Linked DNA regions of Homo sapiens: regions 1, 2, 3, 5, 6 and 7 are each linked to region 4. The links are contacts of gene promoters, found by promoter capture Hi-C in blood cells and fetal thymus (Javierre and others, 2016). All regions are on one chromosome and are shown on one strand. Each heading gives the region's core, a stretch centred on a gene start or on the middle of the fragment in contact. The rest is flanking DNA. Distances are from core to core; before and after follow the strand shown. Region 1 overlaps ST3GAL1 (ST3 beta-galactoside alpha-2,3-sialyltransferase 1). Region 2 overlaps CCN4 (cellular communication network factor 4). Region 3 overlaps ST3GAL1 (ST3 beta-galactoside alpha-2,3-sialyltransferase 1). Region 4 holds the start of ZFAT (zinc finger and AT-hook domain containing). Region 5 overlaps NDRG1 (N-myc downstream regulated 1). Region 6 overlaps TMEM71 (transmembrane protein 71). Region 7 has its middle 120 kb from the start of ST3GAL1-DT.

Region 1 (3,415 bases), core at 718-3,217, 1.2 Mb before region 4:
GAAGAAAAGAAGACGTATTGTTTCTTTCTTCTCCAGGCCAGCCCAAAGGACGAGCAGGAAACCTGAGCAGCATGGAGGGCAGGGGATGGTAATCAAGAACCACTGGACTTTCCTTAGGTAGCAAATTACGCCCGGTGACCCTCGGAGCCACTTCACCTGGAAAGGCAGGTTTCAGGTTTTCATTTCCTTAGCTGGGGTCAGGCTACCTGGAAGGTGCTGGGTCCCTGCAGAGTAGATGCTGCTGGCACTCTGCCCAGAGGCCTCTTCTGGCTGGGCCACCACCCCTCAGCTGCTGTGACTATTGGCTGCTGACAGCTCACAGCTGTCCCTTGATCCAGAGAACTGCCTCTGGCCACAGAGGAGCTGCCTCCCCTGGGAGGTGCCCACCCTCTCACCCCCCACACCCTAGGCAGCCCACAGACAATGACAGAGGGACATGGGGTTACACAGGGTTGGCCTCCTTTACCTTTTCCTTCAGTTTCCCCCACTGATGGTAAGTACTAGAGTTGAAAAAAAGGCATCTTTCCCCAACAGCGTGGAGGCACACTCATTTCTCTTCCCTACTGCCACCTGGAGTCTGATTCAAACACCAAACTACCTGGACTCCAGAGTCCAGAACACGTTTCTTATGTGGAATTATCGGATTCCTGTCTTTCCTTTCTGCTGCCTATAATCTTCTGAGGCTCCCAAATGTCCCTGAGTCCAGGCCAAATTTTCAGGTTTGTGGGACAGCCTCATGGTACAGTTTGTGCTCTGGGGTTGGCCGTGGGATCAGGCTGAAGGTTGACTCTAGCTGGGAGCACATCCCTGCTCAGCAGCTCCCCTGCGTAGCCCTGTGTCCCCCACCCTTTCCCTGGAACACTTCCTCTGCAATCTACGTGCACGGAGTCCCAGACTCAGGTTCTACAGGGAGGAAACTGAGATCCCTGTTTGAGGCTGATCTCTGCAGCGACTGTAAGGAAGAGACAATCTCAGAAGCAGGGCACTCGCTCAAATTCAGAGACCTTTCTCAAGAGCTGGGAGGATCCTCTATAACCACCGAGTCCAGACTCTTGGCTTTTGTGAGGAACCAGAGCCATTGGTCATTTAGTAAAGACTCGTTGGGTCCCAAGAATGTGCCAGGCTCTCTTTGGGATACTGGAGATACAATGAGGAGTGAAATATATAGTCCCTCTCTGAAAGCTTGTGCATCATACAAAACAGTGCAGATAATGGTAAATGCTTTTGCACAAAACCCCATAAGACTTAGAGGCAAGCAGAAATGACGCAAGTATGAAACTCAAGCTGGCTGCCCGCTGTGCTTTGAGTAATGAAGTCCCTTGTCTCTGATCCAGGAAGCTCCTGTCTTCTGCCAGCATCTGTCAGCAGGCTAATTTGTCAGCTTGCAAATAGGGAGACATCTCAGGCTTGTCACAGTTCTTTACAGTTACTAGCCTCATGTGGCTATTTCCAATTAAAATTAAATTTTAAGTTTAAAATGCAGTTCCTCAGATGCACTCATTAATTAACTAATTAGTGTTCCTAACTAAATTAGCTAATAAATTAAAATAATTAGCTAATTAACTAAAACTGAATGAAATTTAAAGCACAGTTCCTCAGTGTCACCAGCCAAATTTCAAGTGCTTAGTAGCCTCATGCAGTGAGCGGCTACTGAACAGGACAGTACAGATATTGAATATTTCCATCACTGGGAAAGTTCTATCGGAGAACACTGGTTGTGCAGTTGAGGCACAGGGTCTAGGGCCAGACAGACGTGGGTTCCACCCTTGTGTTTCACTTGACGGGAGACTCTGAGTTAGCTATGGAGCCTCTCTAAGGTTCATCTGTAAAATGAGAATAGGACTTCACAAGCCTCCTGTGAGGATCACAGAACATCACTGCAAATGACAGGGCGTGGGGCACCAGGGGGACCATGAGACTGAGCTCCTGAGTGAGCCGCTTGCAAACACCATGTGAGGAGAGCGGAGCTCAGGCGGAGGGACATGCCAGTGGGAGATCACAGGGTGGAAAGTAGCTGGTGGTATTCAGCCGGTGTGGGACAGGTGTGCTGAGTAAAAGGGATAATTTTACAGGACGAGGTCAGTGAGGGAAGCAGAGCTGATCATGTCCCTCTGGAGGGCAGTGAATGTAACCCAGCAAAAATTAGTGAAGGAGGACCAGGCACCGTGGCTAACGCCTGTAATCCCAGTCCTTTGGGAGGCCAAGGCGGGTGGATCAACTGAGGTCTGGAGTTCGAGACCAGCCTGGCCAAAATGGTGACACCCCATCTCTACTAAAAATACAAAAAATCAGCTGGGCTTGGTGGCACACGCCTGTATTCCCAGCTACTCGGGTGGCTGAGGCAGGAGAATTGCTTGAACCCAGAAGGCAGAGGTTGCAGTGAGCCAAGATCACACCATTGCACTCCAGCCTGGGCAACAAGAGTGAAACTCTGTCTCAAAAAAAAAAAAAAAAAAAATAGCAATGGAGAATGGCTCTTCACACTTCTCTCTGGAAACTTCCCCTGGTTTCCCGCTGTCCCTACTGCATCACACACCTGTTTTCAGGGGACTTCCCAGGTTAAGCCTTTCAAAAAATAGATTTCAACAACTGAAGATGAATCCTGGGGAATAAGCCAATTAGTGGCCTTTTGAACACCAGCTCCACTTCCCAAAGTGCTTCTCTGGGCACAATGTGCAGGCAACTATCAGATACGAGGCCAATAAATATACCATCACCCCTTCACCTCACATCATGTGAAACACAGGCTACTGGAAGCTTGGTGAATACCTGCTGCACATCGTTAGAGAGGAACTGAGGCAGAGTGAGCTTTCAGAGATAGTCTGCACCTATCTGAAGAGAGCGGGTCCACTATGTACATGCCGGGCAATTCTAAACCTGTGCTAAAGCATTTGGACCCTCAGACTTCTCCTCTGTAAAATGGGAATGCAAGTAAAAATGAGAGTGGATTGAAAATTTCAGTTTAAAATGCAGTTTTTCAATTGCATTAATTAACTAATTAGTGCCACTAATTAATTAGCTAATTAATTAAAATAATTAGCTAATAATTAAAATGGAATAAAATTTAAAGCACCGTTCCTCAGTTGCACCAGCCCAATTTCAAGTGGATTTACAAACTCCATGCACTCTGAGCAGTGTCTGGTTTTCTCATCATTACTGACAGCGTCATGTTGCCTGGACCCAGTGGTCCTCCTGTACCCCATGGTGGCCACCATAAGCTGAGAACAGCAGAGACTCGGAGCAAACTCCATCACAGGGGAAGGACAGGGAATGAAGCAGGTGACTGCGGCGGCCAATCTTTGGCTCTTTTTTCCTAAGTCCTCACACTGTATGATTCACGCAAATAACCAGTGACCTTTTCAAATAGGATTTTAAATGATAAACAGAAGTGCTTGTAGCCATAGCAGATAGAGGG
Region 2 (3,724 bases), core at 219-2,718, 1.5 Mb before region 4:
TCACACTGCATCCCCAGCACCTAGTGCTGCACCTGGCACAAAATAAAAGCTGACTACAGGTGTGTTGAATAAATAAATGAAAGGGAGAATGAATAAATGAGTGGATGCCATTGTTATAGCATTGATTGCACTGAATTGCAATCATTATTTATGTGTCTGTTGGCCTCACTAGGTGGGGAGCCAGTCAGGGGCTCTGTCTTAGGCACCTTCGTCTCCTCCCAGCCTGGCACAAATCCTGTGCATAGTAGGGATTCAATAATCCTCGGTCCCTAGAATGACTCAGTCATCGTGCACATCCCCAGCTAAACTGTCAGTGCTGGAGGGCGGAAACCGCCCTTGCGCCAGTCATCTGCTTTCCCTCGTGCTCACACAGAGAGGTGAGGATTGATCGATTATCACGAGTCAGGACTCACTTGTGGCCTGCAGACCCAAATCCTAGGTAAGCGTCTATGCTGGACATACCCTAGGTATGTGTCAGTGCTGGACAAGGCAGCTGGCACTCAGAGGCTCACACACCAAACCCAGCAGTCCTCATGCCCTGGGGTCCAGAGGGTTTTCCCCTGCACAGATCTTGTCCAGCACCTTCTCCTGAGTCTGGGAGATTTTCTACCACTAGATGGTGCCAATTGCAAAGGCTGGCTCAGCCGACTGCCCACAGCCCTTCCCTCCTCTGCCCAGGGATGCCATAAATGGTTCCCCTGTCCAAGGGAGGACTTCTCTGCAGCTTCCCCTCACCAGCTGTGTGCCCTGGCACCTCCAGGCACTTAGAAAGGAAGCTTCCTTCTGGGCATCTTTAACTTGGGATGGAGACAGGAGGATGGATAGTGATCCCAGGAGTGGGATACCCACCCGGTTCCAACCCATTCCAGCTCAGCTCAAAGTGTCCAGATCCCCAACTCTGTTCTGGGCACAGTGGGGTCAGGGAGGACACACAACCAAATGGGTGTAAGAGGAGACAGGCTTCTGTGTGCCATGTGACATGTGCCAGGCCCTACCTAGTGCTGCCACATCCACAATGCCCCTTCACCCTTCCAACTGCCCCCAAAGGGAGGTGAGTGTGATTGTGCCCATATCACAGATGGGAATGCTGAGGCTCAGAAAGATGAAGATGCTGTTCCAAGGCCACACGGAAAGAACGTACGTCGGACTGTCTCAGGTTGCATGTTCTTTTCTTGACACTCAAACTTAGGGCCCAGAGGAGAGGTTCCAGTACATGATGCCTTAAATATCATAGATATCCAAGCCTTTTTAGCCGACAATCCCCCATCCATCCATTTCACCAGTCAACACATATGAAGCCCTACTGTGTGCTCTGTGCTGTGTTTCAGGCGCACAGAGAGATGCAAGGCCCGGGCCCTGCCCTTTCCAAGTTCACATTCCAGTGAGCGAGGTAAGGGCAGGGAAGCCTTCCTGGAGGAGAGGGCATCTTTATTTCCTCTGCCAAGAGCACGTCCTGAGTGTGGTGGCTCTGAGAGATGGTCTGCTAGTGCTCATGAGGCTCTGAGGCTTCTAGAATCATGGCCTAACAAGGAAATGTCTCTCCCCAAAGTCAAAAAGAGGGGTGTGTGTGTGTGTGTGTGTGTGTGTGTGTGTGTGTTTACTGATTCGGATATGTAGGGTTTTCTTGCATCCTGTTGTGTTTTTGAGGAAATATGAACAAGGGCAGGCTAACTAGTGCCTCCTCGGTGAACCACCCAGAACTGCCAACCCCAAGAGCTCTCTGTTCCCTACCAGCAAGGCCTTCCAAGGCCACATCGCCCACAGAGCCTTCCTCCCTGCAGGGGGCTGCAGGCAAGATTTTTTTTGGCCATTCTGGTGTCTGTCTGGGCCATAACAGAGAAGTCACCCATATGTCCCCAGTGAAGACTGGCAATGTGCAGGCACTCTGTGGGGGCCTGCCCCATCCTGCCCTCACCCCATGGAGTTCACCGGCATTAACCTCCAAACACACACAAATGTCTAATTTCTGAGCCTGCCTAGTGGCTTAAGGGAAAGCCAGACACACGCAGGTCAGCGAGTCAGGAGAGTCCGCCCAGAGAAAGGGGCCCCAGGTGAAAAAGATAGGAAGGGCCTCTCAGCCACAGGGAACTGCATCGCAGCGGCCTTGAGGTAGGGAAAGGGTGGATTTGACCAAGTTCTGAAATCAAGCCTATGGGAGATGAAAGCTTCAAGTCGGGTTTTGTCTGTTGACTTGCAAGGGCTTTATTTATTGCATCAATATTTACTACATTTATTGTGCGCCAGGTTCAGAGCCTAGTCAGACTAATTCAGAAATTCATCTGAACCACTTTCCTCATCCCTGGTCCTTCAAGGTGCAAGAGTGGACCCCACTCTCCTGGGCAGAGCAGTTACTGCCCTGGTGTTCAGAGAGCTTCCATGCCTCCTTGGAATGCCCAGCACTTTGCGTAGTAAATCCCTCGAGTTGCAGTAAATCCCTCGAGTTGTAGTAAATCACCTCTAATACTTGCCTCTCCCATAAGCTGTGGGTTCCCCAATCATAGGGACTTTTAACGCTTATCTTCAAATATCTAAAACTTAAGAGAGACTATGAGCTAACTCTGCAAATGTCTGTTGAGTGAATGAAAGAACCCAGAAGAGGCAAAAGTAGAAGCTGTTGTAATGAGAGTTAGGAGATTAATTTGCATCTTGGCCTTGCTGTGAACTGTGTCATCCTGGGAGTGTCCATCTGTCTCTTCGGGTCTTGCCTTCCTCCCCTGTAAAGGAGGAAAGAATTTGTCTGAGTAGCTCAGCACCGGAGCCTGGTGTTCCGAGTGGAAAGCAGATCTGTGATCCCACAAAGCAGGCTCCTCTGCTTCCAGATGGAGGGAGCAGCCCAGAGCCCAGCCAGCCCCCTGTCCCAGCCCCACAGAAGCCCTGGATTCTCCTCTGCTTACTTCAGAACTCAGCCGTCAAGGACGAGAAGTGCTGGGCAGGATGATCCATGGCTTGCCCAGGAGAGGGAGGACTGACTCAAAGCCTGGCTCCCGTCCCCGCTCCTGTGTCCTCAGGCGATTCTCTTCCTCTTGCAGGCCCAGGTCTCTTTCGAGATAGAGCAAAGGGCACAGATGGGATTCAGGGGGGCAACCAGATGGGACAGCAGGTGACTGGGTGCTGGAGATACAGGCAGCTTGAAGCTCCTGCACTCAGACACCCAGGCATCTCCATCTGCCGCTCCTCAGGCCTGGGCAGCTCTTAGGGCCTTGGTTTCCCTTCCCAGCTGGCCTCTTGTGTCCATCATATTTGCCAAAATAAAGATGAAGCTGTTGACTGGGGGATGGGAATGGGGATGCTGGGGAGGAGTGCGGGTTGGTAGAGTGGAGTGTGTATGTGTTGGGTGGGGGGTCTCATTGCCCTGACAGCAAAATAAAAGGGCTCCTCCATGTAGGGCTTGTGCTGGCAAAGGAAGCGCCAACTCACTCCCCAAGGGCTGGGGCCCATGTAGCTGCCAGGAGCTATAAAGTTGAATACCTGCCGCTGCACCACGCCAGCCCTTTCCGGATGCTCAGAGGGGAAAAAAATAATAATAGGTCAGCGGGCCGAAACCGGTATTAAGTAGGAGTCCTCTGACTCAGAGAGGCCTTAAGAACTCTCGGTGAGTGAAGGAACTGGCCCTGCAGGTCGTCACAGAAGAGCCATGGGATCCGAGCCCCGCGCAGCCACATGACTCACAGCCAGCTTCCACCTGCTCAGGGCCTCGGCTTTCTCCCTGTAAAGTGAGGCCACC
Region 3 (3,270 bases), core at 514-3,013, 1.2 Mb before region 4:
CATTACCAGACCCCTACCCTCAGCCCAGACTCCCACTTTCAGCCCAGGCCTCCCACTCTTATCCAGATCCCCACTCTCAGCCCAGACCCCACTCTCAGTCCACACCCCAACTCTCAGCCCAGACCCCGCTCTCAGGCAGCATCTCACCAGCCACCATCGGTAGGTGTCGTCCTCCAAGAGCGCGTTCTGGGCGGTCAGCAGCGGCTGCATGGTCTGGTTGAACCTCTCATCGAACCAGGCCGAGAGCTTGCGCTGCCCGATGCAGTGGGTGCAGGTGCAAGGCCTGTGCTTGATCAGTCTCTTCAGGTTCTCGGAGAGCTCCAGGACCATCTGCTTGGGGAACCAGGTGGTGGCCACCATGGTGTGGGAGTAGTTCAGGAAGAAGGAGGTGAGGAAGATGAAGAGCACGAGGAAGGTGAGCACTTTCAGGGTCCTCTTCCGCAGGGTCACCATCTTCGCAGTCCTGATGGTGGCCTCCCACGATGGGTAGCAGGAACTCCCTCCTAAGAGAGGAGAAAAATGGAAGAAAAATCCCAGAGGTGGAGGCTCAATCAAAAGGGATGGCAGGAATTCCAAGGGAGGACACAAGGGCCGCTAAGCTCGACTTCACTCCTGCTGGGGGATGACCCCCAACTGTGTCCCAGACACGGCTGTGTGGTAGACCAACGCCATTCGTGGCATGTTGGCTTTGCTTGCATATATTTACCTTTTCAGAAAATAAAGTAGCCTATTCTTCTGCAATCCTTAAAGAGCTGATAATGTCTCTCGATCAAGCTTTAACCAGTGATTTCCTTTCACATCCAAAGAAGATAAGGGGTCATTAATCTCTGTGACAGTCCAGGGTCCCTCAGGAGCGAGGACCTCGAAGGAAGGGTGTTGGTATAGCGGGGAGGGAAACTGTCTCTGCCGTCCTCCTCCAACTGTGGTTTCTGACGATCCTTAATTAGGGCTTTTTCTTTCCCATCCTGTCGCCAGGGACATGGTGGGTACACAACCAGCTTGATGAAGGCACAGAAGGTTGTCTGTCATCTGCAAAGAAAAGGAGGAAGAAAACAGCGTGAGATTCTGTGATCCTGCTATAAAAAATGTTTCTCTCCACATCTCCACCAGGACGTATTCCGTGGTCTTCCTTCTGGTGTCATGCCAACCTGGCAGGTGGCTCTGGATGGTTTATCTACCTTTGTGAGCCTGAGTGCGTGCATACAATGGATGTTATCATCTCTTTGCAAGGTTATTATGGGATGCAGAAGGTGTCCCCTCCATGTTTCCAACAAGAACCTAGCACATTGACACACTCAACAAACATTTGTCAAAGAGCTCGTGATGCATGTAGGTACAATATACACAGGAATTGTTAAATGCATGTTATTTGCCTTTCTCTCTACTTCATTCTCTTCCAGATTTTGGATTTCAGCAACAAGCACAACAACAATGGTATGCTTAGAGAGTGGCCCAGGGTTCCTTTTACCTGGGCATTCAAGCTCTGCCAATTGGCCTCAGTTCCATAAAAAGGGGCTTTAGATGGTCCAGGTTCAAGTTCTGATTTCCCAGCTGTGGAGCCTTGGGAAAGTTATTTGACCTTCCTGACCCTCAGTTTCTTCTTCTGCAAAGTGGGATACTAACACCCCTACTTATAGAATGGTTATGAAGATAAGATAAAATGATGTATGCTGGGCTTCTGGTATCTATTAGGCCATTGCTGAACTTTAATTTTTCTTCTTCAACATGTGAATGAATCAATATTCTCTGATGATCCACTAAGAGCTGAGAGGATGAGATATTCATGCATACGTATCTCTTCAGATAATCCTCAGAATATACTGTCAGCTAGATATTAGTTTCCCTTTTTGTCTTGGAAGAAACTGAGACTCAAAGTGCTTAGATGACTTGCCTAAGGAAAGGAAGGAGCAGGATCCGAGTCCAAATCCACAGTCCTCTGATTCCTTACATCGGGAGGGGTTGGGGGACCAGGAACAGGGGGTTGGGGGGCTCTACCCTGGAGCAGACACCTGTCTTGTTAACTGGTCTTCAGATTACTACGGCTGGAGGGATATAGAGCAAGGGGGGAGTATTCTTTTGAAGAAGGCAAACAGGTACCTCTCAAATGCCCATCGGAGACCCCTCTGGCTCTCACCGACACCTTGGGATTTCTGTATGGTACAACTGTGGTTGCACGTCTGCCCTGGAGCGTGGTCTTTTTGGTCTTTGCTTGGAATGCTGAAGAATGGAAGAAATCTGATCGATTCCTCCCCATTCTCAAGGTGTAGATTGTCAATAAGCAGGGTATATTTTTTTCCAGGAAAATTAGAGTTGAAAGGAGATTGATCACCTTTTGGTAGAAAGGGGGACAGCTCCAAAACCATATTAAATCCACAGTGCCCTTCTGAAGACATCCAGGGCCCAAGATGCATAGGGTGCAACCCTCTACAGCTTCCAGAACTAGAAGCCCAACGTATGGAGGACAAGGTCTGAGCTCTGCAGCTCAGTTGGCAACGTCATTTTTATCCGGTCTCTGCTCCAGTTTTCACTTTTCATGACAACCTAGATTTTGTTTATAACCTAGTGGTGTCCACAGGTATCCCATCCAATTCTCTCCCCACCTGCCCCCATCAAGGAGCAGCTCTGTAATTTAAGTAAGAATAACTTCTGCATCATCACAGATAGGCTCACAATTCACTTGACTGGCAGAGGGTTCCCACCTCTTACCCCAGTAATTGATCCAGGGATGGGCATGTGCCTTAATTCATCCAGCCAAGCTTCTGTAGGGAGGGAAGAAACTTTCTTTTGCTCTGGCTGGCTTGTTGTTGACATGTGGAACATCCTGCTGGCTATTTTGCTAGCGTGTGTAGAAGAGACTAGAGCTGAACAACCCGAACAAATGGTGCTAAATCCCTGATCCTGCTCAACCTGCAGCCCCACCCTCACCTTGACTTTTCAGTTACATGAGGGAATAAATCCCCTTTATGGGGTAAAGTAGGTTATTTGTAACTTGAAGCAATGTGACTGACCCAGAGGTCACAGTTGCTCCTACCTCCGTGTCCCTGCTCAGGCTGTCCCCACTGTCCAGAAAACCACCCCACCCTGCTTTGCCGATGGCTCTTACTCATTCTCTAGGGCTCAGCTGGTGCTGACTCCTGGAGGAAGCCCTGCCCTCTCCTGGGGTGAGTTAGGGGCCTCTCCTGGCTCCCTAGGGTCCTGGCTGCACTCTGTCTGTGCTCTTCACACATATGTCTCCTCCCTGGACTGGGAGCAATGTGAGGATGGAAACTC
Region 4 (3,546 bases), core at 824-3,323:
GAAAAACAAGGTGTTCAAGGTACCTAAGCGGCACAGCAGCATCACCAGAACACATGCATCAGCTGCTAAACAACAGAACAATAAACAACGGCTGGCTTTAAGTCTGCTGTTCAGCCTGCATTTCTTTCTGAGTGTTAACAGCATCGTCTTTACAGTTGTGCAACTGTTGTTTTGTTTTGTTTTTTGAGAAAAATAGAGATGGGGTTTCACTACACTGCCCAGGCTGGTCTTGAACTCCTGGACTCAAGGGACCCTCCCGCCTCAGACTCCCAGAGTGCTGGGATTACAGGCGTGAGCTACTGCGCCCGGCTATGGAACTGCATTTCTGCTGAGAACCTTCACGAGGTCAGATAGAAAATTTTCCACTGTGGCCTCATGTCAGTGCTCAAAGTTTCAGACTTTGGAGCATTTCCGATTTCGGATTTTTGGATTAGGGATGCTCAACCTGTATTTGGAGAGCAAGTCTCTCCGGTGCTCATTTTAGGCTAACCTAAGACAGCACACCTGAATCAGCTGGGCACCACAGCTAATCAGCGCACCTGTGGTCACAGCTACTTGGCAGGCTGAGGCGGGAGGTTTACCTGAGGGCGGGAGGCAGAGGTTGCAGTGACCCGAGATTGCACCATTGCACCCCGGCCTGAGTGATAGTGCGGGACTCTGTCCCAAAAAATTAAAAAAATTAAATTAAAAAAAAGCACGCCTGATATAGTTCGGGTCTCCTGACCCAATATTCGGCTCTGGGCCCACTCTGTCACTCCAGGACACATTCTCCCACATCTAGCACCGCAGCAGGTGGAGGCAGGACTACGACTGGGACTGCTCTTTACCCCTGCCTGGCGTGCAGAGGGGATCCTTGCAAAGCTGTTATTTGAACTAAAGTCAGGAAAGGTGTCCCTGGGGGTTAGAGGTAGGACACGCTACTTCCTTCAGCATGGGGACACACACTACAGATGTTTCAGTAGATGAACTGGTAGGCTCGGAAGATAAAGCTGGTGAGAGGCAGCTGTGCGGGGCATCTCCAAAAGGTCACTTGGACTCCAGCAAAAAAAGCCAGACTGATGGGCAGGCGTGATCAGTTAGCGCGTTCGTTCTTTCATTCACTAAGTATATAGTGAACACTTACATGAGCCAAGCCCTATTCTAAGAAGATGGAGGTACAAGTCAGGCGAGCACGCAGGAGTTTGGATTTTAGCCCAAGTTGGAGGAAGTTAATTTTTAAAGCCCCAGCTCTGTCGTTTTTAAACTGTGTAAAGTTGACCTCTCTGAACTTCTGTTCCTCATAATAAATGACCTACAAATTAGAGTTCTCAAGAGAGCTGAGCAGCAAAACGTGTTAAGTCAGTGCCCAAATGTGGAAGCTTGTGGTAATTACAGGTGAAGGACCCCAAGCTCAAGGTTAAATGACTTGCACCGGGTGTCAAGTGGAAGATCTGTCACTCTATTAGGTCCAGCCGGCGGCCGGGAAGCCTGCAGGAGGTACTCATTTCGCCAAGGAGGAATCCGAGGCCAGGCAAGAAGGAAGCCCCGCCAAGGTCCAGTCAAAGAGCTGGCATCGCCGGGATTCGAACCTCGCGCCCACTGCGTTCCGTCGCTGGCCCGCGCCCCAACGCCACCCATTGCCGTGGAAACGGCCGGGCGCATGCTCTCCCACTCGCTCCCGCCTTGCTTTTTTTTTTTTTTTGCGGCGGGATACCCCAGCGACTGAACGTGAGCCGCAGAACGCAACTACGTTCGCTCTCCTCCCCAGACCCGGATCCCTCCGCGGCCGGCGGCCGGCGGCCGGCGGCCGGCGCACTGCTTCCCGACTCGACGCTCGAAACGGCTTTCCGCGCGCCGCGCCGCGCCCCACCCCCACCCCGTCTCACCCCAACCCCCAGCCCGGCTCACCTGCCGCCCGCGTCTCCATGGCAACGCCCCACCGCGGAGGAAAAAAAAGCCTCGGGCTCTTCCGGGCCCCCTCCCGTGCCGACCGAGGGGGCGGGGCGCCCTGCTGACGCTTCGCTTTTTATTTTTATTTTTTTAAGAAAAGAGCCGGCGAGGTTATGGCGAATCTGCGGCATCCAACATGGCGGATGGAGTCTTCGCCCTCCTCCCCACGGGGCGCAGACGCCTGCGTAGCGGACGTCCGCTTCGGGTGACCCTCCCCCGGCGCCGAGCGCGGCCCGGCAGGGCCGAGCTAACGCGCATGCTCGCAGTCGGAGGCCGTGCTTTTTATCCCACTTCACGGATTCCGCTGCGCCGCGTTTTGAGCCACGCCCAGGGAGGGGCCCTCGGGAGGTCCGGAGCGCGGATCTCGGGGTCAGGAGTCTGGCGGTTGTGCCAGGCCTCTGCTAGCGCGACCCTAGACCCGCGGCATGTGGGGCCGCCGAGCTGGGCGTGCAAGGAGAGTTCTGGGTGCGCTTCGTGTCCCAGCTCTACCTCTCACTACCTAACTTGGGGCAGCGAATTAACTTTTCTTGCTCTCAGTTTACTGATGTGTCCATCGGGGTGCTCCCAACCTGCATCCCGCTCAAAGCTGCGGCGTTTCCCGAAGCGTGGGGTGCTTTCCTTTGGGCCACCCGGCTGGGTTTTAGGGGCTACAGAGCACTGAGCGGCCTACGATCACACGTGACAAGGCGACTTCCTCCTCTCTCGTCTCTTTTTGTCCCACAACAAGTCTGCACTGGATGTGCGCGCCTCCAACACCCGCTCATTCATTTCTCTGCTTGTGGCACAGCCTTCGGCAGGCAGCTGAGTCTGGTGGAAATTTAATGACTTTGTTTTTGGTTTTGATGTTAAGGTGTTTAGCTCCAACACTGTAGTCCTCGGCTCAAATGATATCTTCCAGCCCCTAACCCTCACCCCCCGAAACCCATCTAAAGTAACCCTCCAAGACACTTCATATTTTCTACGTAGCATCCATTCCTATCTGTCATTATCTCCCTCCCTTACCTCTGTCAATGGTCACCCCGTTAGCCTCAGAAACAAACTGAGCCTGACAGTTATTTATTTCATGAGTAATGAGTTGATGTGGTCCATGTTCTAAGGTCATTTTCTGTTCATGACAAATAACGTTTTTCACTTACAGTAGTCATATAAAGTTTTTAAATTGTTCGTTTACATTTTCAAAAATCAGTCAACTTAAAATGGTGTACATGCTGCAAAGACATGCCCCCCCCCCCCCAAAAAAAAAAAGTGTAAAAGCAGACTTCAGGAGACTGAAGTTTGGGAAACTGATTTGTGTTCATGGTTCCCCTGAAATGCTAGTCTTTGCCTGTTCTTCTTTTCCTGGAATAACCCTCTTTGGTTGCTGCTCAACATGAAATTCTCGGACAGCCCTGAAGTTCACACTTCATGTTCCCACAGCTCTGGTCTCACTGGCCTAGCTCCATCCCCCACTTCTCTGTTTGCACAGCGTTCATCCTCACTAGACTGAGCTTCCTGAGCAGCCCTTATAGGTCCTTTTCATCTTGTTTTCTCAGCGCCTGTTGCATAGTCATATTACTGAATGAACACTTCGTTCTGGGGTCACTTATTTTTTAGGAGGAAAACTCCCTTGGGCATTGA
Region 5 (3,442 bases), core at 316-2,815, 1.4 Mb before region 4:
TCCTGCCTCAGCCTCCTGAGTAGCTGGGACTACAGGTGCCCGCCACCACGCCCAGTTATTTTTATTTTTATTTTTTGTATTTTTAGTAGAGACGGGATTTCACCATGTTAGCCAGGATGGTCTCGATTTCCTGACCTCATGATCCACCTGCCTCGGCCTCCCAAAGTGCTGGGGATTACAGGTGTGAGCCACTGTGCCCAGCCGAGACTTTCCTTTTCATCTCAAAATAGAAGTCCAGCAGAAAAGCAGACACATTAACTGGACTCCTTTCTGACAATAGCCTTGATAGATAAAAAGCTGAAGGTCTAAGCTGATCACAAGCTTGAGAGATACAGAAATGTGATATCTGACTATTAACTGGTCTCCCCGGCTCCACCCATGTGCTATACTTTTAAAACTCAAACCTGACCACATCATGGTCCTCCTTACATTTTTTCCATGGCTGCTGTCATCTGGACCTGGATTAAATTTCAGTCTCTTGTGAGTAGAAGAGGCAGTGGAGACCTCTAAGCATTTCCCTCAATCTAAAAATTCTGAGTTTCAGGCTGGGTGCTGTGGCTCACGCCTGTAATCTCAGCACTTTGGGAGGCTGAGGCAGGCGGGATCACCTGAGGTCAGGAGTTCAAGACCAGCTTGACCAGCATGGAGAAACCCCGTCTCTACTAAAAATACAAAATTAGCCAGGCATGATGGCGCATGCCTGTAATCCCAGCTACTCGGGAGGCTAAGGCAGGAGAATTCCTTGAACCCAGGAGACAGAGGTTGCAGTGAGCCTAGATCACACCATGGCACTCCAGCCTGGGCAACAAGAGTGAAACTCCGTCTCAAAAAAAAAAAAAAAAAATCTGAGTTTCAGCCCAAATTCTATCTTTTACCAGAGCTGTCCATGGCAGGACAGGCCCAGGAAGACAGAGAAAAGTCTTGTGTCCCCTCTGGCCTGGTGAAAGTGTGACTCGGAGGACCAACTGGAGTCTTGGCTGGCCAACATTTCTAAGAGATGTTGCTGGCATGTTTTCCTACTGACCCAGAGATGGAGTCCCAACACTGTGAAAACTGAGCCCCAGCCTCACCCACCACAAACCCCCAGAAAACAAGACGGCTCAGCAGAGCGAAATGCAAAAGCGATGAGGGGAACAGGATGATGGAATGGAGCTCCCATTAGATGGCAGGGATTGGAAGACTAGATGACAACACAGGCCCTCGTGCTGGGGATTCAAATAGCCCCACATCCCCTGAGCTGTGGGCAAGAACATCAGGGACTTTGGGTAAATTCAAGTGGAAACAAACGTGGCTGGCACCTATACCATTGCCCTGTGTGTGTATATGTGCATGTGAGTGTGTACTGGTGGGAAAGAATGGGGAAAGCCATTCTGTACAGCAAACACCAACCTTCAAAACGTCATCAGAGTATAGTGGCAATCTAGATTGAGGACAGACACAAGGAAGAACTTCCCAATAGTCAAGCCTAACTCTAAATACTTTGCTGAGTCAATCTAAGGAATTGAAAGAAATTTATTTCCGTCTAAACCTTGAAAGAAAGGGTAAATATTCACTGAGAGATGCACTGGCATGTAACCCTGAATGGGCAAGCTCTTAGACATGTGTTTCATACATAAAATGTTCTAAGGATTCCAGTAGGCTGCCCGAAATAAATAAAAAATGTTGTTTTAAATGCATTTACCCTTGGACCCAGCGATGCCACTTCTGAGAACTTTTTTCTAGGGCTGTACCTGCACATGTATGTAATGACACACATGAAAGATACAAGGGTGCAAATTTCTTGCAGTGCTGTCTGTAATAGCAAAAGGCTGGAAAGACACATGTGTTCATATACTGGGCACTGGGCAAATACATGTAGTGGAATACTATGTACCTAAAAAGAGAAAAGCAAGTGGATTATGGACTGATGTTGAAAAGATCTCCCAGAAATGTCAAGTGAATAAAGCAAAGTGTGGGATACTATTTTCACAGGGTTTTTTAAAAGGGAGAAATAAGAATATGGTGATATGTATTTGTTCTATCTAGAAGTTTCTGTTTGACTATTTCAGAAGACTATGTCACAGACCCAGAGTTTAGAGGACACAGATTTAGAAATTGCATAGTATACAGTAGGGGTTGGCACACTGCAATCCGCCTCACCACATTTTAAATTTTTGTTGGAACACATTAAGTACATTCACTTGTATACTGTCTATGGTTGCTTTCTTGCTATAATGGCAAAGTTGAGCAGTTGCAACAGAGGTCATGTGGCCTTCAATGCCTAAGATATTTACTATTTGACCCTTTGCAGAAAAGGTTTGCAGACCTTAGTGTGGAATGATAAGCAAGCATCTGTAGCCTCCCCAGGCTTGGTTTCTAACTCTAGTTGTACCAGCTATCTGGATGAACTTGACCAATCCCCTTCCTGTCTAGGACCAGTTTGTTTTTATTTTTAAATCTGCAAAAGGGGAAAAGAGATGGTTGCCTCACACATTTGTAAAGAAAAGTCTATGAAATTATGAACCTAAAACAGAGCAGCCACATGTAGAGTCATAAGGAAATTAAATGAACAGTCTATTCACCAACGTCCGCTGGCCTGGGTTTGATTCCATGTCCCACACTTTGTAACTATGCAAAGAAGACAAATTAACCTCCCTAAGACCCAACTTCCTCCTCTACAAAATGAGTACGATCACAGAACCTGGGACCTGCATGAACCAAAGTTGAAATACGGTCGGCGGAGAAGCAGGCATGCAGGATGTGGTTAGTGCATGGTAATTATCACTTTTAAAAGCATTTAGTTGGCTTTAGACTAACTTCACTTTTGGACCAAAGCTTCCACATTTTTAAAAAGACATATCAGAGGCAGTTATGAGGCTAAGTGAGAATTGGGATGTAAACATGCTTTGAAGCTACGGTGTCAACTGTGCAAATGTAAAGGTTCATTCATCTTCAGAACAATCAGCCCAGGCTGGGCCCTGCCAGCCCAGCCTATAGACAGGGGCTTCTGTTTCCAACAGGAAGAGCTCTGTTGACAGAAGAGGTTTGCCCAAAAAGATAATAATAGCAAGTGAAAAAGTGACTATGCATTGCCCATCTCCTCTATGGCAAAGTTCTAACTGTTCCCTATGAATTAGGTCACTCCATCCTCACTTGGCCCCATGAGGTAAGTCCTAATGTCACCATTTTACAGATGAAGAACTAGAATATGAAGATACTGAGAGGTTAGCAAGTGGACACCAAGCTGCAAAGTGTCACAGCTGGGATTTAAGCCCAGACAGTGCGGCCCCAGAGTATGTGGCTTTAATGAGAGCTGAGGCAGGCAGTCCCTATGGGCAACTGGGCCCCATGTTGCATGTTCTATAACCACAGAATGTTAGAGACGGGAAAGCTGAGAGAACCTCTGGTTCGATGTCTTCACTTTACAAATGAGAGCAGAAAGGCCCAGAGAAGTGGGCAAGGG
Region 6 (3,642 bases), core at 517-3,016, 2.0 Mb before region 4:
AACTGATGTCTGTATAAGGAATAAGAGACAGTCAGAGAGTCATTAAAAAAAGAAAGAAAAAAGACTTCCTTGTAGTACTTCAAGAAAATGGTAGACTGCACATGTTTTGGTAGAGCATAAAATTCGGCCATTGGTATAGAATTCTGTTGCTCTTGTAAAACAAGATAGGAAAGCATATTTAAAAAGACATCAGATTGAGACAAAGTAACAATTCATCAGTATTCAATAGTTTCACCACTCACCAGAGAAACAATTCACAACTGCCCATATATTGACACTAACATATATATTATATATATATATATATATATATATATATATTCATTATTCTATTAGGCAAGTTTTTATTTAGTATGTACATGGCACCAAAAAGAAATAACCTTTCAAAACTAGATGATAGCTAAAATAATAATTTCAAACCAATAATACAACAAAGCAAGACATACAGGAAAATAATAATAATAATATAATAATAATTATTATTATTTTGAGACTCGCTCTGTTGCCCAAGCTGGAGTGCAGTGGTGTAGTCTTGGCTCACTGCAACCTCTGCCTCCCAGGTTCAAGTGATTCTCCCACCTCAGCCTCCCGAGTAGCTGAGATTACAGGCACATACCATCATGCCCGGCTAATTTTTGTATTTTTAGTAGAGACAAGGTTTCACCATGTTTTACCCAGGCTGGACTCAAACTCCTGACCTCAGGTGATCCACCCACTTCGGCCTCCGAAAGTACTGGGGTTACAGGGGTGAGCCACCATGCCCAGCGAAGAATGATTTTTTTTTTAGACAAGTCTCTCTCTGTCGCCCAGGTTGGAGGGCAGTGGTGGGATCTCGGCTCACCGCAAGCTCCGCCTCCTGGATTCACGTCATTCTCCCGCCTCAGGCTCTCAAGTAGCTGGGACTGCAGGGGCCCGCCACCACGCAGCGCTGATTTTTTTTTTTTTTTTGTATTTTTAGTGGAGACGGGGTTTCACCGTGTTAGCCAGGATGGTCTCCATCTCCTGACCTCGTGATCCGCCTGCCTCGGCCTCCCAAAGTGCTGGGATTACAGGCATGAGCCACCACGCCCGGCCAGAATGATTATTTTTTTAAAAGAAGCCCCATAGTATACCTTGGGAAAATGCACGTGGGAGACAGCTCTCCAGCATATTCTCTTTCCAACCTGGAAGAACCTGCATAAACAAATGAGAGAGAAGTAGAATGTATCATACCTGATCAACAGTTACATATGTTGATACATGTATCAATATGTATAATTGCAAACAGTGGAGGCATGTAAGAAGATGGGAATAGCTGATGTTCCAGCTTCAGCAGGAAGACTCCAGTAGTGCAGGTACCCTTATCACCAGGGATCTACCGGAAGCAAGACATAAACTAGAGGCTTCTATCTTCTGTTCCTTCATCCACATAACACTCTAGAAGTTCCGGGCGCAGTGTCTCACTCCTGTAATCTCAGAATTTGGGAGACCGAGGCGGGCGGATCACAAGGTCAGGAGATCTAAACCATCCTGGCTAACACGGTGACACCCCGTCTTTACTAAAATATACAAAAAATTAGCAGGGCGTGGTGGTGGGCGCCTGCAGTCCCAGCTACTGGGGAGGCTGAGGCAGGAGAATGGCGTGAACCTGGGAGGCAGAGCTTGCAGTGAGCTGAGATCGCTCCACTGCACTCCAGCCTGGGCGACAGAGCAAGATTCTGTCTCAAAAAAAAAAAAAAAAAAAAAATTTCTTAGTGCAGAATGAGGCAATAATAAATCATTAGCATCAAACTGAGCTCATGTAAGGATGGGAAAAAACGTCTTGTGTGAAGCAGGAGAAAACCCAAATCAATTACCCAATGTGTTGGTTATTGCAGCTTACTCAGTAATCTGAGGAATTCAATCATTGTTCTAGACTCTCCCTCATTAGTGCATATTAAGACACTTCTACTGTAAAATAATGAGCAAAAGACATTAGTGGGGAAGAAATAAAGTTTTGTTTTGTTTTATATAACATTTTTCCAAAGTATAAAGACTGTGAGTATTCTTAATTATAGAAACATCATCCATTCATTCGTTCCATTTTAACCAAAGGCGTGGCAACAGACTTTACTTGGAGAAAGTTGGAGTTGATTAATATTCTAAACTCTAAAGCAGAATTTTATCGTGTGCAGAGATGGTGTCAATAGTCCTAACAGACAAGCTAGTGAAATTTGATTCCATTATGGACAATTAGTATCTAGGACAAAGAAAGGAATTTAGACTTTCAGATTGGGCTGGTTGATTTGTAGGGAGAAAACTGTGGGTGTGTGAGGGAGAGTTAGAAGTGGGGTTTTGGGAGAAAATAACAAGAGGAAGGAAGAAACTTGAAACCACTACCGTTTTAACAGCGCTCTTATTTTCTGCAAGTAGCTATCAAAATCATTCAGCATTTTTTATATACAAACAGTTTTGCATCTTAATAGTAGCTGATAAACAATCTCCTTTCACATTTATGCACAGGCATCTAAAAAAAAACGGTGATTTTTTTTTTTCTACTAGAAGGAAAAATACCACATTTCTTTCAAGGAAAAAAATGAAGTTAAAATCATTGCCAAAGTGAACACTGGCATTTAAGAAGCACAAGCTACTGACAGATGGTTAATGGTCTGAGTATCAGCAAAATCAAAGCAAGGAAATTGCTAAAAGGAGTCTAATCGTTCAAAAGATAATTGCGTATCACAGTTCTTCTACATTTACTTGCTACTGGTGTTGACATCAGTTGAGATATTCGGTACATCTTGGGAAGGCCGCTTGCTCAAACTTCACAGATTCTCTGCAAAAGATGTTAAAAAAAAGGTGGACTATATATTAAAAATAGAAAAATTATGCCAAAACAGATGGCATCTACTAATTGCACTAGTCAGATTTGTTTACTGAAATAATACAGAGATACAGAATTGAAGGTAGGAGACCAGACTGAAGACACAACCCCTCTAAAGTTGTGTCTGCCTCTATGACTGAACATTTTCCATTGCCTCACTCAGTGCATCTCAATAACATTTTTCTGTAAATAAGAACCACACTTTATTTGGAAAATCTAGACTTAAAAAGGTTGATTTGTAATCCAAAGAAAATAATGAAAGTGAGGTATTTGATTAAGAAATCTTAATAAAATGACTGGTTCTAACAGTCATTTAGCCCCAAAACAAACTTACGTGTATTTTAATCATCTGACACAAGTCAACTTCATTATCAAGTTTCAAACAGTGCTTGGAGATTGGTGTCTGTCTTTTTCCCAACAACTTGAACCATTGACAGGTAGTCACAGAGAGTGATTTTAATAGTTTTTATCAGCCTGGACATTCCTAAACAGCATAAGTAATGTTGCACTAAAGATAGCATACCATTGGGAAGATTTTAGAACTTAGTTCCCATGAAGACATGATTTAATTTCTCAATTACTAATTAAAAACATATCAAAGTATGTAAATTATGCAAACTTTGATCATTTACTGTTCATCAAATAGAACCAACTTCTGTTGACTATGAAACTTTGTATATAGTATCACTATCCTAATCGCTTTATAAGGTAGGAGTAAATTATTTTCTGATTCACCACTTATGGCCACATTTTGTAACATGAGAACTAGTAATGGATTGTTTTTGTAGCTGTAATTCAAT
Region 7 (3,499 bases), core at 770-3,269, 1.3 Mb before region 4:
CAAGCCCTCCAATGTACAGATTTGGAAACGGAGGCACCAGAAGCCAGTGTAGGGAAGCAGCCAGCTGTCTGCAAAATAGCAAATGGCCTGGATTCATTAGCAGAACCCACTCTCTTTCCATTGTTTCTTCCCTGATGTCCAAATTGCTGTATAGCATCTCCAAAAAGCAACTCTCCAGCCTTTGCCCATATGGCTCTGAGGACAGAGCTCACTTCCCCATGAGACAGCAGCCCAGCCATCACAGAGTCTGCAGTAGGAACAGGCTTTTGCAGAAGGGGCCAGAGGCCACCAGGAGCACACCCAGCTCCTATCCAGCACACCAGCCTTTCAGACAGCAGGAGGCAGGGATTGAGACTGGGGTAAACAGCCTTGATCCCAGCACATCTGTCCCCTGGAGTCCCTGCCGAGGGCCTGCCCTGGTCTGTCCACCCCACTGAGCCTGCAGCACTCCTGTCCCCTGGAGTCCCTGCCGAGGGTCTGCCTTGGTCTGTCCCACTGAGCCTGCAGAATGGAGCACTCGGCCTGTGTTCGCTCAGCACTGACAAGGGCAGCACCAGGAGCCTCTCACCAGTCGGCTCCAAGTCCAGGCCTGTGATATCGAGGAGAGGCATGAGGGAGCTGGTTAGTGCCCCTCCACTGTTCCGGAGGCTCCAAGGCACCTTCCAGTTTTCTTACAGCTTTGATTGGACAATGTAGCTGGTTTTGGCTCCAGAGCTTGATTGAAAGCGATGGGTATCGACTCCATGGGGAGAGTTAGGAGCCAACAAGCCACCTTTATCTCCTTCTCCCCTTGTGCAGTGACCTTGAAAGGCACATGCTGAAGTTGAAGTTGGCAATGTCCCAAGATGAAAACAGCTGGGTAGCCTGAGCCGCCACATGCAGGGCTCACGTAGGACACTGCAATTTCCATCAGACTTTGACCCGGCAGTGAAGAAACCTTTGTTGTTCCATCTTAGGTTGTTGGGATTGTGGAGTTTGTCAGTATTGTAGCAGCAGCCTCTTCTGTCCTGACTGAGACAGAATCAGACCTGGTTTTTAACCCTGGTTGATCAGTTATGAACTGTGGCTACAGACACATAACTAATAGTCTCTGTGCCTCAGATCTTCCATGAGGATACCACCCCCATGTCATTCATGGGGGTTGTTGTGAGAATTAAAGGAGAAAATGCGTGTGAAATGCTTGGCACACAGAAAGGACTCAGAAAAGTCTGCCTGCCGTCTTTCCTTAATATATACTATGTCACCTTATACCCATTTTATAGATTAAGAAACTGAGGTTCAAAGAAGTCAGGTTTTCCCCATTGGTCACACAGCTAAGAAATCACTGCAGAGTCAAGGATGAAGGGTGGGAGAGGGAGGCCAAGTAGAAACACCAAGGTGTGGAGGTCTGGGCAGGCAGGAGCCGGTGGTGCCACGTGGCCCTGTGAAGCCGTGGGCAGCTGGTCAGACACTCACCCTTGCTTGGGGCTTTGACATTTTCCAACTGGACACAGACTTCTTCTCAATCTATTTTGTTAGCTGGATGACAGAGATATAATCTCCTCATCTGGAAGGTGTTGTCCTTGTTACTATCTAAGATCAAGTTCTTTTAAGTTCTGGCCTTACACGTGGGTGTGTGGCTTTTCCCTTGAGGTTTTCAGCTTGTGTCTGGTTCCCAACCAAACCCCATGTTGAATCTGGTGGAAGGTGGGTCCGTTGCGCCCTCTGGTGGCCACCATCACCAGGCGCTCTTGGCCAAGGTCCTAATGAATAAACCTGGCCGTTGGGCCGGACCAGCTCTGTCGCCGTGAGCCAGCCATGGGCACTCATCTTCAAAGTGCTTTTCTCTGGAGCAACACCGTCCCCTGTCCCCACACCCCTGGGGAGTATGGCGCACTTGCAATCTTTACCCGGGACTCAGGAACCCCAGCCCTTGCGATTTAAGTTCTGGCTACATCCCTAACCCCCTGGTAAGTCACTTAACCTCCTTGAGTGAAGCTCAGTTTCCTCTTTAAATTCCCCTCTCGAGAGACCAATGCCTCTTGGCAGGATTGTTGCAGGATTAAACGAGCTTAATGGAGGTAAAGCACTCAGCCCCCGTTGCCAGCGTGTGAAAAAGAACCAGCCGCGGTCATTAAAAGCTCCTTTATTTCATGGGTGTTGCAGCTGTCTGGCTGCCCGCCCGTCCCCCCACTAACTCTCACACTCTGGTGGCAGAGACCTTCTCTTGCCCATCTCTGTATCTCTAGTCCCCATGGCCCTCAGTGCGTATTTGCCAAGTGAAATATATACATAAAGCACATTCGCTTATCACAGTCCTGTGAGGCAGACACCCCCGGAATCACTGTTCCCGGTTTGCAGAGAGGGTCTATCCGTGGACCCCGGTCTTTGACTGCTGGGGCCTGTGACTGTCCATGGGTGTCCATGACCCAGTCATGGCGCCCTCTAACGCATCCTCTCTAACTTCAACCCGGCCCTCCACCCTAGCCACCAGCTGCCTGTACTCACAGTCATTTTCTCCGACGGTTCACAGTCCATGGGAAAACGTTCCTCCATTGTTCTCTCCTCCTGCCTTCGCCTCAGCTCAGCATTTTATCTCCCCAACTCTAGGGGAAAAGGAAGCTATCAGACGGCAATGACCTCAGCTTCGTGCCGCTAAAGCTGTCTGCCCCTGCCTGGATCCCCACCCCGGCCCCTCACCATCCTCTTGTGATGGAGGCGGGGGTCCCTCCAAGCCCCTTCCCTCTCGAGGGCCCTGCTCCACACTCCTCCTTCTCTCTGCTGCATCTTCCTCTCTCTACTGGCTCCTTCTGGACAGCATTTAAGTCTGCTGCAGTCTCTGCTGCTAGACAAAGCATCCTTCCTCAAATATGTGACCTTCTCCTTTAACCCTGCACCCACCCCTCATGGCCCTTCCCTGTTTCTCTCCTGGTACACTGCTGGAGTGCCCTACTCACTCCTTATACATGGGTCTTTGTAGCTATTACTCTATTCCAGCCTAGTTTCCACCTCCATCCCAAAGAGAGCTTGCTCTTACCCAGGCCATACATGGTGCCCCTTCACCTCTCTGGGGACAGGCGTCACCAGGGCAAGGCCTCAGTCTCCTTGAAGTGACCTTGCTATAGCCTCAGAGGCACCACGAAGCCAGAGACCTGTGGCCTCCCTGGCTGCTTCTTCTAACCTCCTTTCCTGTATTTTGCTCCTTGGACCATCTCATTCAACTCCCTGCAGGCCACATGCAGACCCAGGGCTTCGTGATCTATAGCCTGATGAGGCCCAGATTTCTGTCTCCAAGTGGGTGGGGTCTTAGGGCCTCAATCCCATTACCCTCAGTATGGGCTCTGAGCTAATGGAGGGATTGATTCAGGAACCACCTGCAGCTGTGTTCTGAGTCAAGCTGAATTGGGGCATGTGGCTTAGAATTGCAGCAAAATGTCCCTGCTCGTTATCTCATCCAGTTGAACTGACTTTCTATACCCAAACACAACCTCCTCTTTGCGGCAGCCCCATCAGCCTGGAA

The links. Contacts are between HindIII fragments. The CHiCAGO score rates a contact against its expected background, and 5 or more counts as called.
Region 1: a contact is called between a fragment that was not itself captured here and the fragment with the promoter of ZFAT in region 4, in 3 of 17 cell types (erythroblasts, monocytes and naive B cells). The highest score is 7.7, in erythroblasts.
Region 2: a fragment that was not itself captured here is called in contact with the fragment with the promoter of ZFAT in region 4 in 1 of 17 cell types (fetal thymus); the score reaches 6.6 in fetal thymus.
Region 3: a contact is called between a fragment that was not itself captured here and the fragment with the promoter of ZFAT in region 4, in 1 of 17 cell types (fetal thymus). The highest score is 6.9, in fetal thymus.
Region 5: a fragment that was not itself captured here is called in contact with the fragment with the promoter of ZFAT in region 4 in 1 of 17 cell types (naive CD8 T cells); the score reaches 5.2 in naive CD8 T cells.
Region 6: a contact is called between a fragment that was not itself captured here and the fragment with the promoter of ZFAT in region 4, in 3 of 17 cell types (fetal thymus, non-activated CD4 T cells and naive CD4 T cells). The highest score is 9.3, in fetal thymus.
Region 7: a contact is called between a fragment that was not itself captured here and the fragment with the promoter of ZFAT in region 4, in 1 of 17 cell types (fetal thymus). The highest score is 7.1, in fetal thymus.

Annotation. Positions count from the first base shown.
Region 1 is chr8:133,507,622-133,511,036 of GRCh38, forward strand. The region is part of intron 2 of ST3GAL1 (ST3 beta-galactoside alpha-2,3-sialyltransferase 1); the gene reads right to left. Among named protein-coding and RNA genes, the nearest start is that of ST3GAL1-DT, 61 kb to the right of the region's middle. The HindIII fragment of the contact is 1,575 bases long and covers 1,181-2,755 here.
Region 2 is chr8:133,208,826-133,212,549 of GRCh38, forward strand. The region is part of intron 1 of CCN4 (cellular communication network factor 4); the gene reads left to right. LOC102723635 (a long non-coding RNA gene) reads right to left here. Exons shown (of 3, transcript XR_428405.3): 2 at 2,895-3,039; 3 at 2,178-2,714. Among named protein-coding and RNA genes, the nearest start is that of CCN4, 20 kb to the left of the region's middle. RefSeq lists an enhancer at 2,951-3,724. The HindIII fragment of the contact is 1,389 bases long and covers 775-2,163 here.
Region 3 is chr8:133,475,572-133,478,841 of GRCh38, forward strand. ST3GAL1 (ST3 beta-galactoside alpha-2,3-sialyltransferase 1) reads right to left here. Exons shown (of 10, transcript NM_173344.3): 4 at 707-1,029; 5 at 148-503. The coding sequence starts at 453. Among named protein-coding and RNA genes, the nearest start is that of ST3GAL1-DT, 93 kb to the right of the region's middle. The HindIII fragment of the contact is 1,982 bases long and covers 773-2,754 here.
Region 4 is chr8:134,710,958-134,714,503 of GRCh38, forward strand. ZFAT (zinc finger and AT-hook domain containing) reads right to left here and starts at 2,074. Exons shown (of 16, transcript NM_020863.4): 1 at 1,888-2,074. The coding sequence starts at 1,906. RefSeq lists an enhancer at 1,906-2,085. The HindIII fragment of the contact is 8,105 bases long and covers 1,357-3,546 here.
Region 5 is chr8:133,280,532-133,283,973 of GRCh38, forward strand. All of the region lies in intron 2 of NDRG1 (N-myc downstream regulated 1), which reads right to left. Among named protein-coding and RNA genes, the nearest start is that of NDRG1, 15 kb to the right of the region's middle. The HindIII fragment of the contact is 2,493 bases long and covers 320-2,812 here.
Region 6 is chr8:132,756,122-132,759,763 of GRCh38, forward strand. TMEM71 (transmembrane protein 71) reads right to left here. Exons shown (of 10, transcript NM_001382403.1): 2 at 2,719-2,794; 3 at 1,113-1,173. The coding sequence starts at 2,758. Among named protein-coding and RNA genes, the nearest start is that of TMEM71, 2.6 kb to the right of the region's middle. The HindIII fragment of the contact is 4,357 bases long and covers 1-3,642 here.
Region 7 is chr8:133,447,952-133,451,450 of GRCh38, forward strand. No RefSeq gene overlaps it. Among named protein-coding and RNA genes, the nearest start is that of ST3GAL1-DT, 120 kb to the right of the region's middle. RefSeq lists silencers at 1,339-1,497, 1,669-1,718. The HindIII fragment of the contact is 4,849 bases long and covers 1-3,499 here.